Regions from separate parts of the Homo sapiens genome. Here all the other regions are linked to region 4. The links are contacts of gene promoters, found by promoter capture Hi-C in blood cells and fetal thymus (Javierre and others, 2016). All regions are on one chromosome and are shown on one strand. The core of a region is centred on a gene start or on the middle of the fragment in contact, and the rest is flanking DNA. Distances in the headings are between cores, read along the strand shown. Region 1 overlaps KCTD17 (potassium channel tetramerization domain containing 17). Region 2 has its middle 19 kb from the start of ELFN2. Region 3 overlaps CARD10 (caspase recruitment domain family member 10). Region 4 holds the start of CYTH4 (cytohesin 4).

Region 1 (5,226 bases), core at 2,089-4,588, 230 kb after region 4:
CGTGGGGCAGGATACGACAGACCTCGGCACTCAAATCAAGATACCAGCTCAGGTCCTAATCTTGCGGCTTGTCGGGCCCACTCCTGGGTTTGTAGAGGGCACCTCTGGGCAGGAAGGTGGAGTCTTCCCCCTTGCAACCTGTGCCTGTGGTCTGTGCCCCAGGACCAGCCCCTCCGCCTGGCTTGGCTGGCCCGATCCCTGGTGGAGGGTGGCAGCATTACCGCTGTCCCCACCACCACCTCCAGCCTAGCCCCAGAGCCAGGGGGCCCTTTTCTAAATGCAGGCGGAGGCCTCTAAAGGGCGGCTGTCCCCCATTCCAGATGTGGCTGACACAGCCCCAGGACAAGGTTGCAGGGTGGCATTGGCAAGGTGGAGCCCCACAGAATATTCCCTTCACTCCTGGAAGCAGAGGTGGGACGACAGGTGGTCCACTCCTGAGACCAAAGGGCAAATGACCAATGGTCCCTGGCCTGCTTGCTCAGCCTCTGAGAGCCTGTGCAATTGCCAAAGACACCCAGAGGCTCTCAGAGTGGCCCTGCCCTTGTTCCAGGGTCCCTAGAATAACCACGCCCACAGAGCCCTTCTGGCTAAGAAATAAGAAAGTTCTTCCAGGTGATGAGTCTCATTCAGCTCTCAGGGACCCTGAAGAGAATCTCAGGCCTGCTGAAGGCCTCACAGCTAGGAAGGGGTGGAGCAGGGAATGGCATCGGGGATCCCAAGTCCTCTCTGAGTGTTGCAGACTTCAATATGGATTTCTAATGATTTGCATGACACTAATGCCAACATAGGGAGTCCTACGGAGGGCTGTAAGCTTTACTGATGGCCCTTCTAATCTCACAAGAGTCCTACAGAGGAGGTACTGTTAGCCCACTTCACCGATGAGGGAACTGGGTCCCGCACAGGAGATGTAACTTGCCCAAGGTGGCAGGCATGTCTGTGGCAAGGCCTAGAGGTGAAGCCAGGCCTCTGGCTCTGCACTAGGCCCATTCTTCCATCCCTCCAGGCCATCCTGGGGGCTCCGACCTTCTGCCTTGCAGTCTCCATGTGCCAGGGAACGTGTGGGTGGGCGTGGAGAAAGGCTAGCCAACCCCCTCTCCTTCTCTAAAGGCACTTTTGACCCTGGGCTCACTTTCTGGCTCTGCTCCTCTGGAAACCTGAAAGGTGGGAGGTCAGCTGCATGACTAGGGATAAAGTCCCTCGGGATAAGGATCTCCCGATGGGTAAACTGCATCTGGACTGGGAGGAACCACCGTTCACCATAAAGACCTCATGGGAAGGCACTGCTTTGGGCTCCCCTGCATGTTGCAATGCTGGCCACTGGGCATGTCCCCTGCGGAGACCCTGAAAACTGTGTCAGGAACTGCTATGATCGCATGATGCTGACTCTGAGTTCTAAGAGGTACTGACTCAATGTGGACTCCACTCACCTATGTGGATCTGGTCTCCTTGCACCTGAGCTGTCCTTCGGGGGCCACAGACTCACTCATGCCACCAGATAGATCACCACCCAGTTGCTGTGAGGACTCCCACCAACAAGGACACCCCGTGCTGTCCTATGGCCACTGGGGCTCCTATCCTCTCTCTCGGTCAACCTGCCACCAAGTGTGGTCTCTCCTAACCTTGTTTAATTTGATTTCAGAAGAACCCTGGGGTTGGGGGAGACTGTGGTGGGGAACCCAAGGCTGGGGCTGCAGGAAGGGAGGGGCCTGCTTGGTCAGAGGCTAGGAGGTCCCAGGGTTGTCCTGGTGGCACGCCCCTGTCCCCAGCGCACCTGCTCGAAGCGCCAGCCATCAGACATGGTGGAGACCATTTGCGTGAGCTCCTCCTCCTGGCACTGCAGCACGCGGTACACGTGCTTGGGTGGGACCTGTGGGCAGAAGGGTCACATAGAGGGCACCTGTGGGAGCACCAGGCACCCCAGGAGGGGCATGAGCACCTGCTGCCACCACCCCCGCAACATACCCAAAGAAGAAGAGAGGGAGAGAAAGAAGAGGTGGTTGGGGGGAGGCAGCCATGCTCTGAGCACCTGCTCCTCACCAGGCATTTACCAGGCACCATCTCACTTAATCCTTCCAAGAATCCTAGGCATTACGGGACTTTCCATTGAGGCTCAGAGAGGTCCAGTTACTTGCCCAAGGTCACCCAGCTCAAGGGTGAAGGAGACAGAACCGGAACACGGGTAATTCAAGAAAGAACATGGGTGGGGCTTAGGGAACATTCTGGGTCACCCTCAAGGAGTCAGGCCCTCAAGGAGACACGGAGCCTCCCCTCTTTAATCCCCTGGGCCTGAGAAATGGTTCCTCACTACCTGTCCCCCAACCCTCACACATCCCCCAGAGTAGGCGGAAAATCTCTTTCCCTCCTCCTGCAGACTGGCCAGGGAGGCCCAGGCTCCAAGGTCACAAACGCCAGCCCCAACAGCCTGTGCCGAGCCCACCAGGCGACCATCTGATGCCACAAAAGGCACAATTTGCTAATCCTGCATTTTCCTCTGCAGGGCACCCTGTACCTCCACACTGACCCCCTTCTGCCTATGAGGAAGGGATGGGTGTGCCATTCCCACCCCTCTCTATCCCATAAGAGAAAATCAAGGTCCGGAGAGGGCGAGCCTGGCCCAACACACAGCAAATGGGGCTGAGACAGGGACTGAACCCCAGTGTCCGTCTCCGAGTCTGGGGCTGTGCTGGGCAGCCTGTCAGCCCAACCATGCCTCTCCTTACAGGCCAGCTCGGCCTCCCCATGACAAACACTGGTCCTGTCTCTCCCAACCTCCTCTGCTTCCCGCCCCGTCTCTCAGCCTCTCTCTCCCCACTGGCCCCTGCCCTGGCCGTGTGTGCTGCCCCTGCTCCCGACCTGGGTGACCGTGTAGTCCTTCTCTTCCATCCGGTCTTTGATGATGCGGATCAGCGGGCCGATGTTGTAGAACTCGGCTTCCTCCAGGACCCCTGGCACAGACAGAACAGATCCCAGGTCACTCCTTCTGCCTCCATGCCCCATTCTCCTCTTGTTCCCTCCACCCCGAAACCCACCTCTCGCTCTGATCACCCGCCCTGAGGGTGAGCTGAGTGTCTGTGAGTTCAGGGGTCAAGTAAGAGGGAGCATTTCTTTCCTTGGATCCCACACTTCCTGTGGAAGGGGCTGAGGGGCTGCCACACAGCTCTGCTGTGCTGAGTGCGGTGACCCAGGGGTACCTGCCAGGCCACCGTCTGGGGCAGCTTTAGGGCTATCAAGAGACAGCAGGGTCATTGGGACTGATCCCCAGAATGTCACCATGAGCAGGGCCTTGCCTGACCCCTGATTATGTGCTCCTATTTATTAAGCACATTCTAAGTGCCAGGTGCATTACATTTTTGAATTCTCAGAACTAGAAGGAGGTACTTTCATCATCTGCATTGAACAACTGGGAAAACTGAGGCTCCCAAAGAGAAGCAGCTTGTCCAAGGTCACACAGCTGGTAAGTGCCAGAGGGAACTCAAGCGCTGCAGACTCCAGAGCCCATGTCTCCCCACTGTAAGCACATACCCTTGTGTCCATGCATTCCCCCAACTGCCTCACCTTACAGTTTGCAACACCCTGCACGAGCTCATCACAAGTCCAGGGATATGAGGAGAGCAGGCATTACTGTCCCCATCTTACAGTTAAGTTAATCTGGGAGATGAAGAAGTCAGCCCACCAGTGAAGCGATGAGCTTGCAGCTGTTTCGACTCCCCTAGGCTCCCAGAAGGCAGGGGACCTTTGGGCCCTTTCCTTGACTGGCCTCTGGGCTCCCTGGGGACAGAGCTCATTATGAGCAGAATGTGTGTGTTCCCCAAAAATCCACCTGCTGAAAACTGTGATGGGATTAGGAGGGGAGGTAATGAGATCATGGGGGTAGAGTCCCCAGGGTAGGATCAGTCTTCTTATAAGAAAGGCTAATTGGATGTGAGGGCGATCTGGCGGGGACATCTGTCACTCCACTGATCACCAGGGTTGATTTAGCTGATCTGGCTGGCTAGATGTGTGTCCCCTTCCTCCCTCACTGCTCCAGGTGTGTCCCTCCCGAAGCTGTGAGCTCCATCGAAGGGGGCGACCACCCCCGATAGAGGAGGACCGGACTTTGGTCAAGGGTATGTGAGTAGCTGCGCTCCCCTGCTAGAACCTCCAAACAAGCTCTCGAGAAGGGGCGGGCGAGGGCTAGCTCCCTCTCTTTCTGCCATGTGAGGACACAACGAGAAGTCAGCAGTCTGCAATCCGGAAGAAAGTCCTCACCAGAACCTGCCACAGTGCCCCGATCTCGGGTTTCTAGCCTCTAGGACCAAGAGAAATAAATTTCTGATTTTCATAAGCCACCCAATCTATGTTACTTCATGATTGCAGCCTGAAATGGCTAAGATGGGGCTCACATTTCTGATCTGCCCTCTGTCCCCGGTGCCCACACAGGACCAAACACAGAGCAGGAGGTCAGGGAGTGCAGCTGCCTGATTACGAGAATTATCCCCAGTGCCCTGGGCGGAGCCCTGCAGGTGACAGACAGCTAGCACTGCATCCCACATCCTCCGGCCAGGAACTGAGCTCCATGCTGCACTATTAACTCCTTTTATCCTCATGACAGCTCGGTGAGGTGGGTGCTATGGTCCCCCATTTCACAGATGGGGGCATGCAGACACAGAGGGGTTAGGTCACTTTCTCAGTGTCACACAGCTAGTAAGTCTCCTCTCAGATCCCCTATCCCCTGGATGAGCCCTAGCCCTGTGTATCCCCTAGCCCCCGGATAGCCCTGCGTGATCCCCTAGCCCCCGGATAGCCCTGTGTGATCCCCTAGCCTCCGGATAGCCCTGTGTGATCTCCTAGCCCCCAGATAGCCCTGTGTGATCCCCTAGCCCCCAGATAACCCTGTCTGATCCTCTAGCCCCCAGACAGCGCTGTCTGACGGTGTGGGAATAGCAGGGCTTTGAGAATGCAGGGCGTGTAAACAGGTGCTGGCTGCGACGCAGCTGGGGTGTTTACTTCCCTCCCGATGGGGCCTGCTCCTGAGCCTAGGCCACGCCCATGGTATCTGTGCTCCCCTAGGGATTAACAGGCAAGCTGTGGGGCTCTGCAGGGCCAGGCACCTACAGTGGACTCTGGTGTTGTGGCCCTGACCTATTAGAGAGTTGCTGGGCCTCCAGACCACTGTGTCCCATAGGGCTCAGGGAGGGCAGACCATGGCCCAGAGCAGGAAGGCACGCACAGGTGCAGGATTTATGA
Region 2 (5,104 bases), core at 196-2,695, 160 kb before region 4:
GTGCCAGGCGCAGGCCCTGGGCTGATTTACATAATTAAAAACCATCAGTAACAAAGCCAGGCCTCACCCACCAACTGCTTCCTCCAGCATGACAACAGGCTGGGCCTCCCTCCAGCACCCCACCCTGTCCTCTGTACCCCAAGGCTTTTCTTGCCCCCCCGATCCCTCAGCCTCCCTGCCTGCCCTGCTCTGTGACACCAGCTGTTGTCCAGTCAGTGATGGAGAGAGTGCAGCATCGTAGGATTCTCCAGTCACTGACTTCGAGATTCTATTAGTCGGTGGCTCTGAGGTTCTTTGATGGAGAGTCTCAGATTATAAGATTCAGCCATGAGCCTCCCAGAATGTGATTTTTCAAGAGTCTATTACTCTATGTGACAAAGGGGAAAAATGTTTGTTCTTAGCAGCCCTGACTGCTCACGGGGAGTGAGAGGGCCTGGCTTTCTGTGGAGGCCGCCATGGTAGGTTGGGCATATCAGCCACTGCTTTCCGGAAGGAAGAGAAATTTGTTGCTGCAGAGGGTGGGGTGGGCACTGCAGGGATCTGGGCAGAAGGAAGGGGGACCCAGAGACAGCCTGAGGGGGCTAGATGGAGGGATATTGATGAGAGGACTTGGAAACCCCCCTGAGAGGACTTGGAAACCTCCGATTCTGTGGAATGTGTGTCAGTCCCTTCCCACGTCTCACCTTCAGGATCCTCAGAGAAGGCTTGTGCATGTAGAGAGGCAGTTTGGGGTGGCGAGTGTGGGCTCCTTCACTCCCCAGCTGTGTGATCCTGGGGAAGCTACTCAGCCTCTCTGAGCTGCGGTCACCTTACCTGTAAAGTAGCGCAGGTGGTGAGAATTCATCATCTAGGTAAAGCGCTCAGAATGAAGCCGGCATGGGGTGAACCCCGCATGCATGGTGGCTATGATTGAGTGGCAGTGGTTCTTTTGGGGAGACCTTTGGCAGGCTGCTTAGACTCGGTGAAAGTAGAGACACACAAGAGTGGGCACAGGGCAGGGCTGGGTCATTCCATCCCCATAGGCCCCGCTCCCAGCTGGCATCCCAGTGCTCAGTGGATGTTTGTTGAATGAGTGAATGGTTTTCTCTTCTCTCAGCCCTTCCTATTGACTGCACCAGCCCCAGTCAGGCAGGTAGGGGATCTGGGACTTTTGTCCTCTCTCCAGTGGGTCCCCAGGTCTTGCTCTTTCCTCCTCCATCTGTCCCCATCTCCACTTCTTCCTCTCCATTCCCACAGTCCCAGCTCCATGGCTGCAGCTGCTGGTGGTGGTGAGTTCTTGCCCCTCCCTAGCTGCCTAGCCTCTGGCAGCCTTCCTCCCAAGCAGTGTGGAGAAGACAGGGCAGGCTGAGCCCACGTACACCATGGTGGTCTGGAAGTGAATTCACAGATCCTGTCTCTCTGAACCTCAGAATGGAATGCCACAGGTCTTAATCCTAGCATGAAAAGATCTTAGAATTTCAGCCTTCAGTTGCAGAATCTTAGAATTGAAACACTCCAGAGGAGCATCGCGTAAACTTGTGACCTTTTGGACTACAGGATGGCACAGGGTGCCCGTGTGCACCACCAATTAGGTAAACTCAGATTTGTCATCATTAAAAAATCTAAATTGGGCTGGGCGCAGTGGCTCACGCCTGTAATCTCAGCGCTTTGGGAGGCCGAGACAGGCAGATCACAAGGTCAGGAGATCGAGACCATCCTGACTAACACCGTGAAACCCCATCTCTACTAAAAAATACAAAAAAATAGCCAGGCGTGGTGGCAGGCGTCTGTAGTCCCAGCTACTCGGGAGGCTAAGGCAGGAGAATGGCGTGAACCCGGGAGGTGGAGCTTGTAGTGAGCCGAGATCGTGCCAGTGCACTCCAGCCTGGGCGACAGAGTGAGATTCCGTCTCAAAAAAAAAAAAAAAAAAAAAAAAAAAACTAAATCAAATATAACATGTAAAATTAATAATAGAACGTAGATGGCGCAACTGCTGTGGAAGACAGTTTAGCAGTTCCTTAAAAAGTTAAATATAGGGCCGGGTGTGGCGGCTCATGTTTGTAATCCCAGCACTTTGGGAGTCTGAGGGGGGTGGATCACTTGCGGTCAGGAGTTCAAGACCAGCCTGGCCAACATGGCAAGACCCTGTCTCTACTAAAAATACAAAAATTAGTCAGGCGTGGTGGCGGGTGCCTGTAATCTCAGCTACTCAGGAGGCTGAGGCAGGAGAATTGCCTGAACCGGGAGGTGGAGGTTGCAGTGAGCCGAGATCGTGCCACTGCACTCCAGCCTGGGCAACAGAGTAAGACTCCATCTCAAAAAAAAAAAAAAAAGTTAAATATAGAATCATCATATGATCCTGCAGTCCCACTCCTAGACACATAAGGGACTGGGAGCAGGAACTCAAACAGATGTGTCCACCTATGTTTGTGGCAGCCTTGTTCACAATAGCCAAAGGTGGAAACAGCCCAAGTATTCATCAACACAGGGCGGACTAACAAAATGCGATGTAGACATGCAGTGGAGTATTATTCAGCCTGAAAAAGGAAAGTCTGATGCATGCTACAACATGAGTGAACCTCGAAAATATTATGCTAAGTGAAAGAAACCGGACATAAAAGGACAAATATTGACCAGGTGCAGTGGCTCATGCCTATAATCTGAGCACTTTGGGAGGCGAAGGCAGGTGGATCACTTGAGGTCAGGAGTTCGAGATCAGCCTGGCTAACATGGCGAAACCCTGTCTCTACTAAAAATACAAAAATTAGCCAGGGGTGGTGGCGGGCGCCTGTAATCCCAGCTACTTGGGAGGCTGAGGCAGGAGAATCGCTCGAACCCAAGAGGTGGAGATTGCAGTGAGCCGAGATCGCACCACTGTACTGCAGCCTGGGTGATAGAATGGGACTCCATCTCAAAAAAAAAAAAAAAAAAAGGACAAATATTGTATGACTCCATGCATATAAAGTACCTAGAATAGCGAAATTCATGGAGATAGTTGAACAGAGGTTATCAGGGGTTACCTGGGGCAGTGGGGAGGGAGAACTGGGGAATTATCGTTGAATGGGTACAGAGTTTATGTTGGGGATGATGAAAAAGGCGTGGAAATGGACTGGACAGTGGTGATGTTTGCACAATAACACGAACGTACTAAATGCCAGTGAACTGTGTATTTAAAAATGATGAAAATGGGCCGGCGCAGTGGCTCACGCCTGTAATCCCAGCAGCACTTTGGGAGGCCAAGGTGGGTGGACCACCTGAGGTCAGGAGTTCAAGACCAGCCTGAGCAACATGGTAAAACCCCGTCTCTACTAAAAATACAAAAATAAGCTGGGCTGGTGGCACACACCTGTTATCCCAGGTACGCAGGAGGCTGAGGCAGGAGAATCGCTTGAACCCGGGAGGTGGACGTTGCAGTGAGCCGAGATCGCACCATTGCACTCCAGCCTGGGTGACAGAGCGAGACTCCATCTCAAAAACAAACAAACAAAAGTTAAAAAGGTTAAAAATGGTAAGCTTTACGTTGTGTATATTTTATCACAATTTTTTTGTTTGTTTTTTATTTTGAGACAAGGTCTGGCTCTTTCGCTCAGGCTGGAGTGGAGTGGTACAATCTTGGCTCACTGCAATCTCTGCCTCCTGGGCTCAAGCCATTCTCCAACCTCAGCCTCCCAGGTAGCTGGGATTACAGGCACGTACCACCATGCCCGGCTAATTTTTTTTTTTTTTTTTTGTAGAGACGGGGTTTCACCATGTTGCCCAGGCTGGTCTTGTACTCTTGGGCTCAAGCAATCTGCCCACCTTGGCCTCCCAAAGTGCCGGGATTACAGGTGTGAGCCACCATGTTCAGCCCTTTATCACAATTTTTTAAACAAGGTTTTGTGTCACTGAGAGTGATGATTCTGTTTGCAATCCTTCTGTCTTTTTTTTTTTTTTTTTTTCTGTTCACCTTCATGCCTCCAGGCCCTGTGTTCCCAGCGCGTAGTAGGTCCTCAATCATTGTTTGCTGAGTGGACAAATGGTCCCGGCTGTCTTGATGGCAAGCTAGTTCGGCCAGCAGCTCATGTTTCCTATCTAGACAGCTTCTTTCCTTGCACTCTTCATCTCCCCAAAGCCAATAGCCCCTTGCTAGGCTGCAGGCGGTCAGAGATGGCACCCACAAGTGCCTGTTCTGGGATTTGGGGATTAGACACAGCCTCAGAAGTGACAAAAAGGTGATTTATCATGGAAGCCTCCTTCCAGTACCTGTCAGAAGAGAAGATATCCCACACAGCACACTCAAGAACTGGAAAGTTGTCCAGACAAACGGCCTAGACCCTGCTTTGGTTGTATTTAATATTTCACACTCGAGAGGATTCCTTCTTGTTTGACAGCAGTGCTTGGATGTGGTTTTTAATACGCTCATTGCCGTGTCATTGATTTCTTCCCCCGAGCAGTGGACAAAAACATCTAGTATTGGGACAGAGTCAGGCTGTCGGGGATCAAGAACTTTGCCCCACAGTTTATCAAATGTGAAAAGTGTATTTTAGCTCCAAGGTGACAGAATCAGAATATTCAAGGTGCTGACTGTGTCACTGAGTCATGTTTCTTAAAATCAAAGGAATGGTTTTCAATGGCATTATTGTGTCATACAGATACTTTTTTTTTTTTTTGAGACAGGTTTCATTCACTCTGTCGCCCAGGCTGGAGTACAGTGATGTGGTAATAGCTCACCAAAGCCTTGAACTCCTGGGTTCAAGTGATCCTCCCGCCTTGGTTTCCCAAAGTGCTAGGAATACAGGCGTGAGCCATGGTGCCTGGCAGAGCAAGATTTAAAAAATTTAAAAAAAATTTAGGTCGGGTGCAGTGGCTCATGCCTGTAATCCCAGCACTTTGGGAGGCCAAGGTGGGCGGATCACTTGAGGTCAGGAGTTCAAAACCAGCCTGGCCAATGTGGCGAAATCCTGTCTCCACTAAAAAAAACAAAAACAAAAACAAAAAACAAAAACCAACACACACACACACACACACACACACACACACACACACAAAACAAAAAACAAAAATTAGCCAGGTGTGGTGGCACATGCCTGTAATCCCAGTTACTCAGGAGGCTGAGGCACGAGAATTGCTTGAACCTAGGAGGCAG
Region 3 (5,152 bases), core at 885-3,384, 220 kb before region 4:
TTAGTAGAGACAGGGTTTCACTATATTGACCAGGCTGGTCTTGAACTCCTGGGCTCAACTGATCCACCTGCCTCAGCCTCCCAAAGTGCTGGGATCAAAGGCATGAGCTCCCATGCCCAGCCGAAGTCTGCATATTAGAAATGCCCTCAGAATCCCCTGGCAAGCTTGAAAGTGCAAATTTGGGGCTTCATTCTCTGGACGTTCTGATTCAGGTGGTCTGGGGTGGGCCCCAGGAATCTGCATTTTATGGGGCTGCCCCCGGCTCTCTCTGAGGCATGGGTGACAGGTCTGGACCATGGGCCCAGCTCTGGAGCCCCTGGTCTTCACTGTGGATGCAGTGGGCTGGGTTTGACTCCTGGCTTCTCCACTGACTGGGATGCTGGGAGTGAAGCCCCTGGCACACAGCAGGTCTCGTGGAAAAGTTTTCAGTTCTTGGTGAAATGGTGAGAGCCTGGATTCTGCAGATGGACTGCCCGATTTGAATCCCAGCTCTGTCGCTCCTGGCTTGGTTTCCCCAGTCTGCAGAATGAGAATAATGATATTAATAGTATCTAACTTAGCCAGTTAGTGTGAAGATATTTAAATGAGCTGATAATTTAGCTCAGGGCCCGGCACACAGTGCTCAGTAAGTGATAGCTGCCATTCTCCTTACTGTCCCCATTCTCCAAGTCATAGGCCAGGAAAGCTGGGCCAAGGTGGCTCCTTCAGCTGCTGCCTCCCCTCCCCCAACCCTAGGCCATCCAGAGCCGTGACCGGATCCAGTTGCAGTACTCACAGAGCCTCATCGAGAAGGACCAGTACCGCAAGCAGGTGCGGGGCCTGGAGGCGGAGCGGGATGAGCTGCTGACAACGCTCACCAGCCTGGAGGGCACCAAGGCTCTGCTGGAGGTTCAGCTGCAGCGGGCCCAGGGTGGCACCTGCCTCAAGGTGAGCGGGTCAAGATTGTGGAGGTCCTGGCAGGAAGGCTGGGGTCCTGGCAGGAGCTCTTGGCCAGGGCTGGGAACGTGCCGGCCCTGGTGGGAGACCTCAGCCAGGGGAGGAAGCTTGGGGGAAGTGGGAAGAGTCCTCAGTTAGGGGCGGGAACTTGAACCCAGGCTGGGCTGGGTGTGGGCTGGTGAGCAGGCGGAGGGGCATGTTGGTCTCTGAGTTTCTGGGGTTGCTTCTGGGACACTAAGAATAGTTTGGAGCTGGTCTTTGCATTTAACTGGGGAAGGCTGGCTGCCTGAGTGCCTGTGTGCATGTTAGAATGCAAAACCTGGGCCTCAGAGACCAGCTAGTCAGGACTAACATGGGCCTAAGCATCCCTCAGAGACCAGCTGGTCTAATCCTCTCATCGCACAGGGCCCAGAGAGGGTGAGGGGCTTGCCCAAGGCCACACAGCCAGCTAGCACTGGAGCTGGAGTCCCAGACCCACTGTAAATTGGATCGTGGTCCTCAGGCTGCTGCCGGGAGCTCTGCTTTTTCCTTTTTTTTTTTTTTTTGAGACAGAATCTTGCTGTATCACCCAGGCTGGATCCCAGGTTCAAGTTATTCTCGTGCCTTAGCCTCCCTAGTAGCTGGGACTACAGGTGCCTGCCACCATACCCAGCTAAGTTTTTTTTTGTATTTTCAGTAGGGATGGGGGTTTCACCATGTTGGCCAGGCTGGTTTCAAACTCCTGACCTCAAGGGATCCTCCTGCCTCAGCCTCCCAAAGTGCTGGGATTAGAGGTGCGAACGCCCAGCCTGCGTTTTCTTATTTTGAGTTGCCTGACAGTGAGCTCCGCAGGCCTGGTGTTTGAAGCACTGGGGCCTGGAGGAATATAGGAAAAGTCAGCATTAATCCAAGACTTTTTTTTTTTTTTAACCCCCAGTGGCTTTTTTGCTGTTTGGTAAAGACAGAGTCCCTTTTCATGGCCAAGAGGCCCTGCGGGTGGGGTTCCTCTTGTCCTCTCGCCTGGTTCTGTGGGTTCCAGTCTTTCAACTGGAATGCATCACAGTCCTGCCTCAGGGCCTTTGCACATGCTGTTGATCTGCCTGGACCATCCCAGCTTGACCTACTTAGCGCCTCTATACCCTTGAGTTCTCAGTTCAAACCACAGTTTCTTTGGAGAGTACTTGGACTCCCAGGCTGGGTGGGGTCTTTGTGTGTTTTCCATGCCCTGGGCACCTTCCTTCTGCTATTGTCTCAGCTTGGGGCTATTTTGTTCACATGTCTGCTGGTTTACAGTTTATCTCCCATTCTAGGCTGTGAGCTCCCTGAGGACAGGGATCTGTCCCTGTGCTGGCACATGGCAGGTGCTCAGTAAAGGACTGTGGTTGACGTGGGCCTAGCACTGCTCACCTCCTTCCTCTCCTCTCCCTCTTCCAGGCCTGTGCCTCCTCCCATTCCCTGTGCTCCAACCTCAGCAGCACTTGGAGCCTGAGCGAGTTCCCCTCCCCTCTGGGAGGCCCAGAAGCAACTGGGGAGGCAGCTGTCATGGGGGGACCTGAGCCTCACAACTCGGTAAGACAACTGCCCCATCCCAAATAAGGGGGGACACTGCTATAGCATTATTACTAATGTGGAGAGTGCTTTCTGAAGGATCCATTTCACAGGTGAGGACACTGAGGCGCAGGGAGGCCAAGTACTTTACTGAAGCTCACCCAGAACCATTTCCTTGCCAGGCATAGGTGCCAGGAGGCGTGGGGAGCCACCCGCACACTATAATCTTGCAGAGCCCGCTCTTCTGCTCTGGGCCCTACTTCTCATTTGTGGAATGGGCACAAACCAGGTGTGCTGAGGACTGGGATGGTGCTGGGCAGTGGGGGTGACCCAGGCCCTGTCATGGCATTGCAGGAGGAAGCCACAGACAGTGAAAAGGAGATCAATCGGCTCTCCATCCTGCCCTTCCCCCCCAGTGCCGGCTCCATCCTCCGCCGGCAGCGTGAGGAAGACCCCGCACCCCCTAAGAGGTGAGATGGCTGGGGATAGCAGTAGACACCCAGGGAGGTGGGGCTGCCGTTTCCCGAACAGCCACCTCCCAGAATCTGCAATGCCAAAGTCAGGTCCAGGCAGTCACTTCCCTTTATTGCCCTCAGATGGCTGGAGCTCTGGAAACCCAGGTCCTGTGAGTCACAGGGGCGACCAAGGTCAGGCTTAAGATAAGGCCGATGGGCAGAGCGAACTCAGTCCTAGCCAAGCATCCTGGCAGGAGGGTCACTGGGGGTCAAGCCTTGAAGATCCTATACCCAAGGAGAAGCTTGATGGTTCAGGACTAGGGGGCGTGGAGAATGTTTCAAGGTATCAGGGACCTCCGGCAAGAAAGCCAGGCCCCAGGTTTGGGCATCAGCAGCAAATAGGGACCAGAAAAACCAAGGCGCACCCTCTGGTGGCAAGACCAAGGGCGGGAGATAGCCTGCCTCCTGGGGCGCGATCCTTGTCACTGCTTTTCCCCTGTAAGCAGCCCTTGATTTATTCCTTTACTGGTGAGAGGCTGGGCCCTGGGAGGCTGTGGTCAGTATGGCCTTGATCTGCGTAAATCTGTCCCAAGGAGGTGTCTGATGAGGAGGTCATGGTTTAATTTAGGAGGCGTACCTGGGAGTCACAAACCACAAAGGTGGCAAGTGAGGGTGAGGTGAGGGGTGAGAGATCAGGGGTGGCTTCCAGGAGGAGGTGGCATTGAAAGAGCTGGCTTTGAAGGGCATGCCAGGGCATTGTAGGTGGAACAACATTGGACAGAGGCCAGGACATTAACTTCTTACCCTGGGAGTTTAGGGGAGCCAGGTGGCATGGGTGCCCTGTACCTGGGACCCTGCCTTGAGTCTAGCCTGCATTTGCTTGGGGGCTGTGAGACATTTATCTGGTGTGGGGGCAGGAGGAGGGAGCGGGGCAGAGTGCCCACTGTGCCTCACCTCCTGCCCCCTCCCTGCCCTCTCTCTGCCCAGATCCTTCAGCAGCATGTCAGACATCACAGGTAACAGCCCTTGAGTTCCGTGGGGAGGGCTCCTCTGGTCGGGGGAGGTGGCTTTGCAGCCCACCTGAAGCCTGCACCACCTGCGCTACCTTTGGCCTGCATCCCCTTCCCTGAAGCCCCGCCGTGGCCCCTGCCAGGCAGGAAGGTTGTGCTTGGGAGGACCCTGGGGACTTTGGTTCCAGCCTCTCACCCCGAGCCCAGTCCTGGGCCTCACTCCTGTTCCCGGCTGTGATGTACGAGGCTCTTCAGTTCTGGGCCACCTTTCACCCTCTTCTGGGAAACTGCGGGGTCAGCCTGGTGGGCCCTGACCTATCTCTGAGCCCAGTGGGTCTGATGTGCTCCTGGGGCCTCAAACCTGCCAAGGCCTCTCTGGGCTGGAGGGGGGTCAGTCCCTGTCATGGACCCTGGCCATCCCTGTTTCCCAGTGCCAGATCCCTGAACCTCATTCTTTTTCCCCAGGGAGTGTGACACTTAAGCCCTGGTCCCCTGGCCTCTCTTCGTCCTCATCCTCTGACAGCGTGTGGCCTTTGGGAAAGCCGGAAGGCCTCCTGGCTCGGGGCTGTGGCCTGGACTTCCTCAACAGGTACTGTAGCTGCCTGCAGTGGGTGGAGCTGGGGTGATTGCTTGAGAGGGGAACAGGAGTGAGGTGGGAGGAGCAATTGCCTCGCCCCTGTTTTATGCAACTATTGGAAGATTAAGATCTGTAGACACTGGCAGCCCTTGGATTCCAATCCTGCTGCCGCTCTTGATCGTCCCTGTGACTTGGGCTGGTCCCTTCACTTCTCTGGGCCTCCATTTCCTCAGTAGCTAAAGGGAGATGATGACCCTTTTTGCATGGAGGTCTTTTGAGGGCTCTGCTCGCAGAAGCAAAGCACCCAGCTCTGCCAGGCATGTAGCAGGTGCTTAGTAATAGTTGTCACTTACAAGCTGTCCTCGTCCCAATGTCCTGCCTGTCAGTCCCTTGGCTCTGAGTCCCTGGGACTGAGCCACCCAGCAAAGTTTCATGCTGTGGGTGGGCTTGGGTCACCTCAGGAGCCCCTGTGACCGGGCCAGCCACAGGTCCATAACAGGAGTCACAAAGCCCATTAGTGCAGAGTGCACTGTAGGCGACGTGCTGTTAGTGTGGCCGGTGCGTGGCCGCTGTTCACACCTGCCAGTGTATCTAAGGGAGGGGTGGGGCAGAGCGGGGGCTGCACGGCCATTGTGGTCTTGGAACTC
Region 4 (5,710 bases), core at 597-3,096:
CTCTCCACCCCACCCCCAACATTCCAGACCAACACCTGTCCCCCAGGGTTAGGCCCATGGCTGGGTCACTGCTGTCCCCAGCACTGCATAGCACACTGGAAGGTCGTTTGTAGAGTGAATGAATGAAAAGACCAACTACTCGATGGAGAACCCATTGACCCCATTTAATCCATTTCCTCCCTAGTACCGGCTGAAGCAAAGCAGAGACTCCCCTCCCCTGCCCTCTCCATAGCCCCGGCCAACCTGGGGCTCTCTCCCGCAGGTTCTCGTCCCTGCTCTGCTGCTGACTGGCCGTGTGACCTCAAGCAAGTCAGTCCCCGTCTCTAGTTCACCTCTGGGAGCCTCAGTTTCCTTATCTGCAACATGGAGACAGCCATCCCTGTAACCTCAGTATGTTAGGACCCGAAAGGACAAAGCGCCCTGCTGGACACACAGGCAGGGGGGTTGCATCTCGGTGGGTGCCCTCCCCCCCTCATCCCACCCTCATGTCTGCTGAGAGGCCTGAGCCAGGTGCTGCCCTTCGCTGGGTCTCCCTGTGCCAACCAGGTGCCCCCAAGCTGTGCTCACTGAGCTGTGATTTTGGGAGCCCCCAAAGCCCATGGGAGAGGCAGGGGTCAGAGTGAGCCCTGGATAGGGATTCAGGGAACAGGATTTGGTCCTGCTCCTGCCTTAGAGAGGCTGTTTTCCTCCCTTGGCCTCTTTTCTCCCTTCTGCCACTGGGGGGGCTGTTGAAATGGATCAGTGGTTCTCTGGGTTCCCTGGGGCCCGAGGCTTCCATCTGGGGGTGGGGAGGAAGGGGGATGCCCAGTGGGCGGGGCCAGGCTGCTCCACATTAGGTGCGTTTGAAGCAAGGGTGCTCCTGGACAAGGCTGAGGTCATCTGGACCTGGGGAGCAGACAGCTCCCACGAGCCCTTAGGTTCTGGAATTCCAGCAGCCGTGTTCACCAGAACTGTTGCAGCTCTGGAGCATGCTGACATCCAGGGTGCAGAAACTTGGCCCCTCTACCGGGCCTTCAATTTGCCTCCCAAAACACGACCCTGATGTTCTTTTCCTCACCATCTTTGCAGCCTCCTTTCTCCTCTTTCTCCCCAGACACATTGTCTTAGTAGCTGGGGAGGGTTTCAACCAGAGCCTCTGTTGCTCACTCCTGGCCCTCCCCTGGCTCTAGGCAGCGTCCTCAGCCTCCCCAAAGACCACCCCAACCCCCGGGGGCCAAAAAGGGGCCTCAAGGCCCTTGTATCACCCAGACAAGCATCGCCATCACCAACATCCCATCATCATCTTAATCGCAAGTCACTTTTCTGAGTCCACCTCTGAGCCTTTGGACTGGCTGTTCCTTCTGGCTGGAATGTTTGTTCCTTAGAAAGCCCCTTAGCTGACATCTTCCTCAGGTCCCTCATCAGACAGCATCTCCTCTTGGGGCCTTTTCCACCATGCATTCCTGTCTTCCTTACCCTGCTTTACTGTTCTTCATCCTACCTGCCATCAACTGACATATGGAATCACATTAGAGTCACTGCCGGTCTCCTCATCTAGAGCACAAGCCTATGAAGGGGGAAACAGCGTCTGCTTTGCTACTGCTGTGTGTCCAGCCCCTAGAACGCAACTGGACACACAGGCTGAGCCCACAAATGTTTGCTTCTTGCAGCTGCATTTCCCACCTGCGCTGTATTCCTTTATCTAGGACCCTGTGAGGCAGGGGCTGCTGTCCCATTCTAAAAGAGAGCACCCTGAGGCCCAGAGAGGTTGACGGCAGTTGCTTACCTGGGTGGCACAGGTCCATTCCGACGCCTCTGGGGAAAAGATGACCCGTGCTCCTGTCGCTTGCCGACCCAGCTGCTGTTCGGGCTGGCCCGGCAAGGATGCGTCACCTTGACTGTAACAGGCTCCTTCCTGCTTGCCCCGCCCAGCCCTGTGTGGGGAGGAAGTCAGTCCTGGCCCACGGGGGTCTCGTGTGCAGGCTTTTGACAAAACAGCACTTCCTAAAAACTGGCAGAGTTTTGAGCAGCAGGGACTTTTGCCAGGGAGGGACAGAGGTGGAAACAAACAAACAAACAAACAAACAAACAGATGAAGTGAGGGGAGGGCCAGATAAAAAAGAGAAAGACAGTGAGACAGAAAGAAACACACAGACACATATGCACATACACACGTACACATGCACAGACACCGAGGGCGATGTTCACTGAGGACGAACATTTTCCAGGGGACCATGGGCATTCACGTGGCAGCCTCCTCACATATATGCCATAGGAGCGCCCAACTTGGACAGTCCTAGCAGGGCCCCCTGTGTTCCACCCCACAAGCTCTCTTCCAACTCCCACTTGAGAAGAGACAAATGAATTCACTGCTAGGAAGGGCTTTGCTTCCCTTCAAAGAAATATCTGGCTTTTTCTTGTCTAGTGAACAATCGGGTAATATGTTCCACTTTCCTTCTCCCCCAGGCTGCTGGGAAACTCATCGTCAAATCCAAAGCTCATCGACAGCTATTCTATGATGTCATGTGAACTTTGGGGCCTGACTCAGCTGTTTGACTCTCAGCTAGGGCTAGTCAGCCTCGCTTTGCTTATCTCTGAAAGGGGAATAACACTAACTCGGGGATATGGAAACCATGGAGTGAGAGGATGTGTCGGAGATGCTTGGGACATAGTAGGTGCTCAATAAACACTTTCTCCTTTGATTTTAATTATCTTCTTTGGTTAAAATGTATCATGTTATTCCTTGTGCCTTTTCTGGCAGGTTGGTTCAAATCCTTTCTGCAAAAAGCTTTGCTGTAAAGAAACAGGTATAAATTAAATGTGAATTCCCTATAACTTCAGGACACATGCAGAGTTATTCATCTGTTTCCCCATTACTCTCCAGGCCCCATGAGGGCAAGGTTACCTTTTGTGTTCTGGTGTGTGGTAAAATGCTGGGGACATAGAGGGTGTGCAAGTGTGGAATGAATGAACAAATGAATGAATGAATGAATGAATGAAGGGAACATGGAAGAGATCACGGCCGATGTGAAAGCTAGCTACAAGTTCACCTCCTTTTCACTATGCCGCCGCTTCTGCTGTCAAGGGGCGAAGTCCATTTCTCCTTCCTTGGAAGCTGAGCTGGCCTTGGGCATCTCTTTGACCAATAGCACGTGGCAGAAATGATGTGCCGTGATGTTCGAGGCTGAGCTTTAAAAGGCCTTGCAGCTCCTGCTCTTGCTCTCAGCCCCCTGCCTGGCTACCATGAGAACAAGCCTGGGCTAGCCTGTTGGAAGACGGAGGACCACAAGGAGATAGGCTGGGCTGTCTTGGCTGTCCCCTGGTTGCTGCCTCATCAGTGAGGCCAGGGGACACCAGAAGAAGAACCATCAAGCGGAGTCCCACCCAAACTGCTGACCCATAGCACTGTGGGAAATAATACATTTTTGTGGTTTAAGCCACCAACTTCTGGGATGCTTTGTTATGCAGCCAAAGCTTGCTGATACAGAAGAAATCCAATGCTGTCATTTCCTCGGAGAGAAAACTGAGGCTTATTTCTGGGAAACACTTGACCAAGTTGGAACTTGAGTGAGTGCCAATTCAGGCCCAGAAGCCAGGCCTACTAAGTCCCCGTCTAGTGTGCTCAGGATTTTTGAACCCCGCTGCTTCTCCCCTGCCCTGCCTCCACCTGGGTTCTTGTATAACTCATGGTTCTTTTCTGGAAAACTTGTTACAATTATTTCCATGGTAAACTAGATTTTTCTCAACTGCTTTGGGCCTGAGGCACCACAAACCATGCCCTTGGCCATTTTAAAACTAGAAATGTGGGCTGGGCATAGTGGCTCATGCCTGTAATCCCAGCACTTTGGGAGGCCGAGGCGGGTGGATCACAAGGTCAGGAGATCAAGACCATCCTGGCCAACGTGGTGAAACCCCGTCTATACTAAAAATACAAAAATTAGCTGGGCATGGTGGCGGGTGCCTATAATGCCAGCTACTTGGGAGGCTGAAGCGGGAGAATCACTTGAACCAGAGAGTCGGAGGTTGCAGTGAGCTGAGATCGCGCCACTGCACTCCAGCCTGGCAACAGAGTGAGACTCCGTCTCCAAAAACAAAACAAAAGAAAAAACAAAACAAACAAAATAACCCCTAGAAATATGGAGAAAGGTATATATAATTCCCTGTGCAGAAAGACTTCACACTGCAGGCCGGAGACTGCTATCTTTAGAAAGTCATGCTTGCAAAGTTGACCCTTGGCTGGCACCTGGGAGCTTGGATTTGGGGAGGGCTCCCACCACCCTAACTGATGAGAGTGGCTTACTGGGCCTAACCTATTTGCCTAGCGTCCCTGGCAGCATCCCATCTCACAGGTGCTTTCACGACTTGTTGCTGGAGGAATTGAGCGTGTCCCGTGTGACTCTTTTGGGAGCAGACTCTTGGAAGCTGCCCCTGGTTTCCTCTGGACTTCGCCACGGCGCCTTTGCGGATTCTGCTTTGAGTCCTTTCACTGCCATAGATCATAGCCGTAAGTATGACCATGAGCTGAGTCCTGGGAGTCCACCTAGTAAACCACTGAACCTGGGATGGCCTTGGGGAAGGCTGCCTGATCTTGCGGCTGATCCAGTAAATGTGTCTTGACCAGGCCACGGTTTGGCATCTGACACTTCCCTTTTGTCTGATGGATGGTCACGGTTGTGTGGTTCAGCTATTGTTACTGTCTTATTCTCTAAGACATACCTCAAATACCACCTCCTCTGTGAGGTCCGTTGTGATGACACCTCCCCTCCCTCTTTCCCACAACGCTGGTCATGTTTAACGGCTTATATGCAGACAGCCTGGGAGGGAGGGACTCTTTCACTGTGAGCAGCAAAGAGTTTAGCAGAACTGACTTCATCATTTTCTCCGTCACTCCTTGTCCAGGTTTGGCTGCAAGATTTGCTGGGAACCAATAGCACAGGCAATGAGGAGAGCAGGAAGCTGGACCCAGGGGAGTCACAGAGAACTGGATTTGAATCCTGACTCAGCTCTTGTGAGCTGTGTGATCTTCTTCCTTCCCCTCCGAGCCTCATTTTTAATCATTTAAAATCATCTACAAAATGGAGACAGTTCAGGTTAGGTTTGCCTACATGAAACAGAAAACCCAAATAATAATAATGGTTTAAAGAAACTAGAGGTTTATTGATCTCTTACAAGAAAGAAACCTGAAGTGGGCAACACATGGCTGCCCTGTAGCAGCCTGGGCATGGATCCAGGATCCTTCTAACTTTCGGCTGCTGTCCTCAAATTCTCTTCATGGTCCAAAGTGGCTGCTTGATCTCCAGCTATCATGTCTAAATTCCAGGTAGGAGGAAGGATGAAAACGGGAAGGAATCCCCTTAAAACTTTCTGGCCTGAGATCAGTCCTTCTGCGCTACATCAGGCTCTGGTTCCCACCTGTGTACCAGGCAGGGGATCCGCAGTTGGTTCTGGGACAACAAATGAGAGTCTCCAAACACGAGATCTGGGAGGTCCTAAAAAAACCATCACTGCTATTTCTGGAGTGCCTGCTATGGAGTGCCAGACACTGTGCTAAGTGCTTGTCATCTCATTTAACCCTTTCCACCATTCAACAAATTACATTATTACAACCCCTCTTTCATAGATGAGGGAACTGAGTTCAGAGAGGTTAAATCACTTGCCCAAGGTCACGCAGCCAGGAGAAAGCAAAGTTCAGATTCAAGCCCTGAACTGTCTGACTTCAGATCCCCACACT

Evidence for each region. The method cuts DNA at HindIII sites, captures the fragments that hold promoters and counts their contacts. A CHiCAGO score of 5 or more calls a contact.
Region 1: a fragment that was not itself captured here is called in contact with the fragment with the promoter of CYTH4 in region 4 in 1 of 17 cell types (activated CD4 T cells); the score reaches 5.2 in activated CD4 T cells.
Region 2: a fragment that was not itself captured here is called in contact with the fragment with the promoter of CYTH4 in region 4 in 2 of 17 cell types (non-activated CD4 T cells and naive CD4 T cells); the score reaches 5.7 in non-activated CD4 T cells.
Region 3: a fragment that was not itself captured here is called in contact with the fragment with the promoter of CYTH4 in region 4 in 5 of 17 cell types (non-activated CD4 T cells, naive CD4 T cells, total CD8 T cells and 2 more); the score reaches 8.0 in non-activated CD4 T cells.

What each region holds. Positions count from the first base shown.
Region 1 is chr22:37,054,039-37,059,264 of GRCh38, reverse strand. KCTD17 (potassium channel tetramerization domain containing 17) reads right to left here. Exons shown (of 9, transcript NM_001282684.2): 3 at 2,854-2,945; 4 at 1,772-1,867. It also overlaps the pseudogene RN7SKP214. Among named protein-coding and RNA genes, the nearest start is that of KCTD17, 4.9 kb to the right of the region's middle. The HindIII fragment of the contact is 5,049 bases long and covers 814-5,226 here.
Region 2 is chr22:37,443,639-37,448,742 of GRCh38, reverse strand. No RefSeq gene overlaps it. Among named protein-coding and RNA genes, the nearest start is that of ELFN2, 19 kb to the right of the region's middle. The HindIII fragment of the contact is 4,099 bases long and covers 1-3,494 here.
Region 3 is chr22:37,501,967-37,507,118 of GRCh38, reverse strand. It overlaps CARD10 (caspase recruitment domain family member 10), which reads left to right. Exons shown (of 20, transcript NM_014550.4): 7 at 736-927; 8 at 2,350-2,484; 9 at 2,818-2,933; 10 at 3,906-3,934; 11 at 4,394-4,517. Among named protein-coding and RNA genes, the nearest start is that of CARD10, 15 kb to the left of the region's middle. RefSeq lists enhancers at 3,860-4,457, 4,458-5,057. The HindIII fragment of the contact is 2,177 bases long and covers 1,046-3,222 here.
Region 4 is chr22:37,278,644-37,284,353 of GRCh38, reverse strand. CYTH4 (cytohesin 4) reads right to left here and starts at 1,846. Exons shown (of 13, transcript NM_013385.5): 1 at 1,766-1,846. The coding sequence starts at 1,784. RefSeq lists enhancers at 442-491, 2,038-2,087. The HindIII fragment of the contact is 11,420 bases long and covers 1-2,769 here.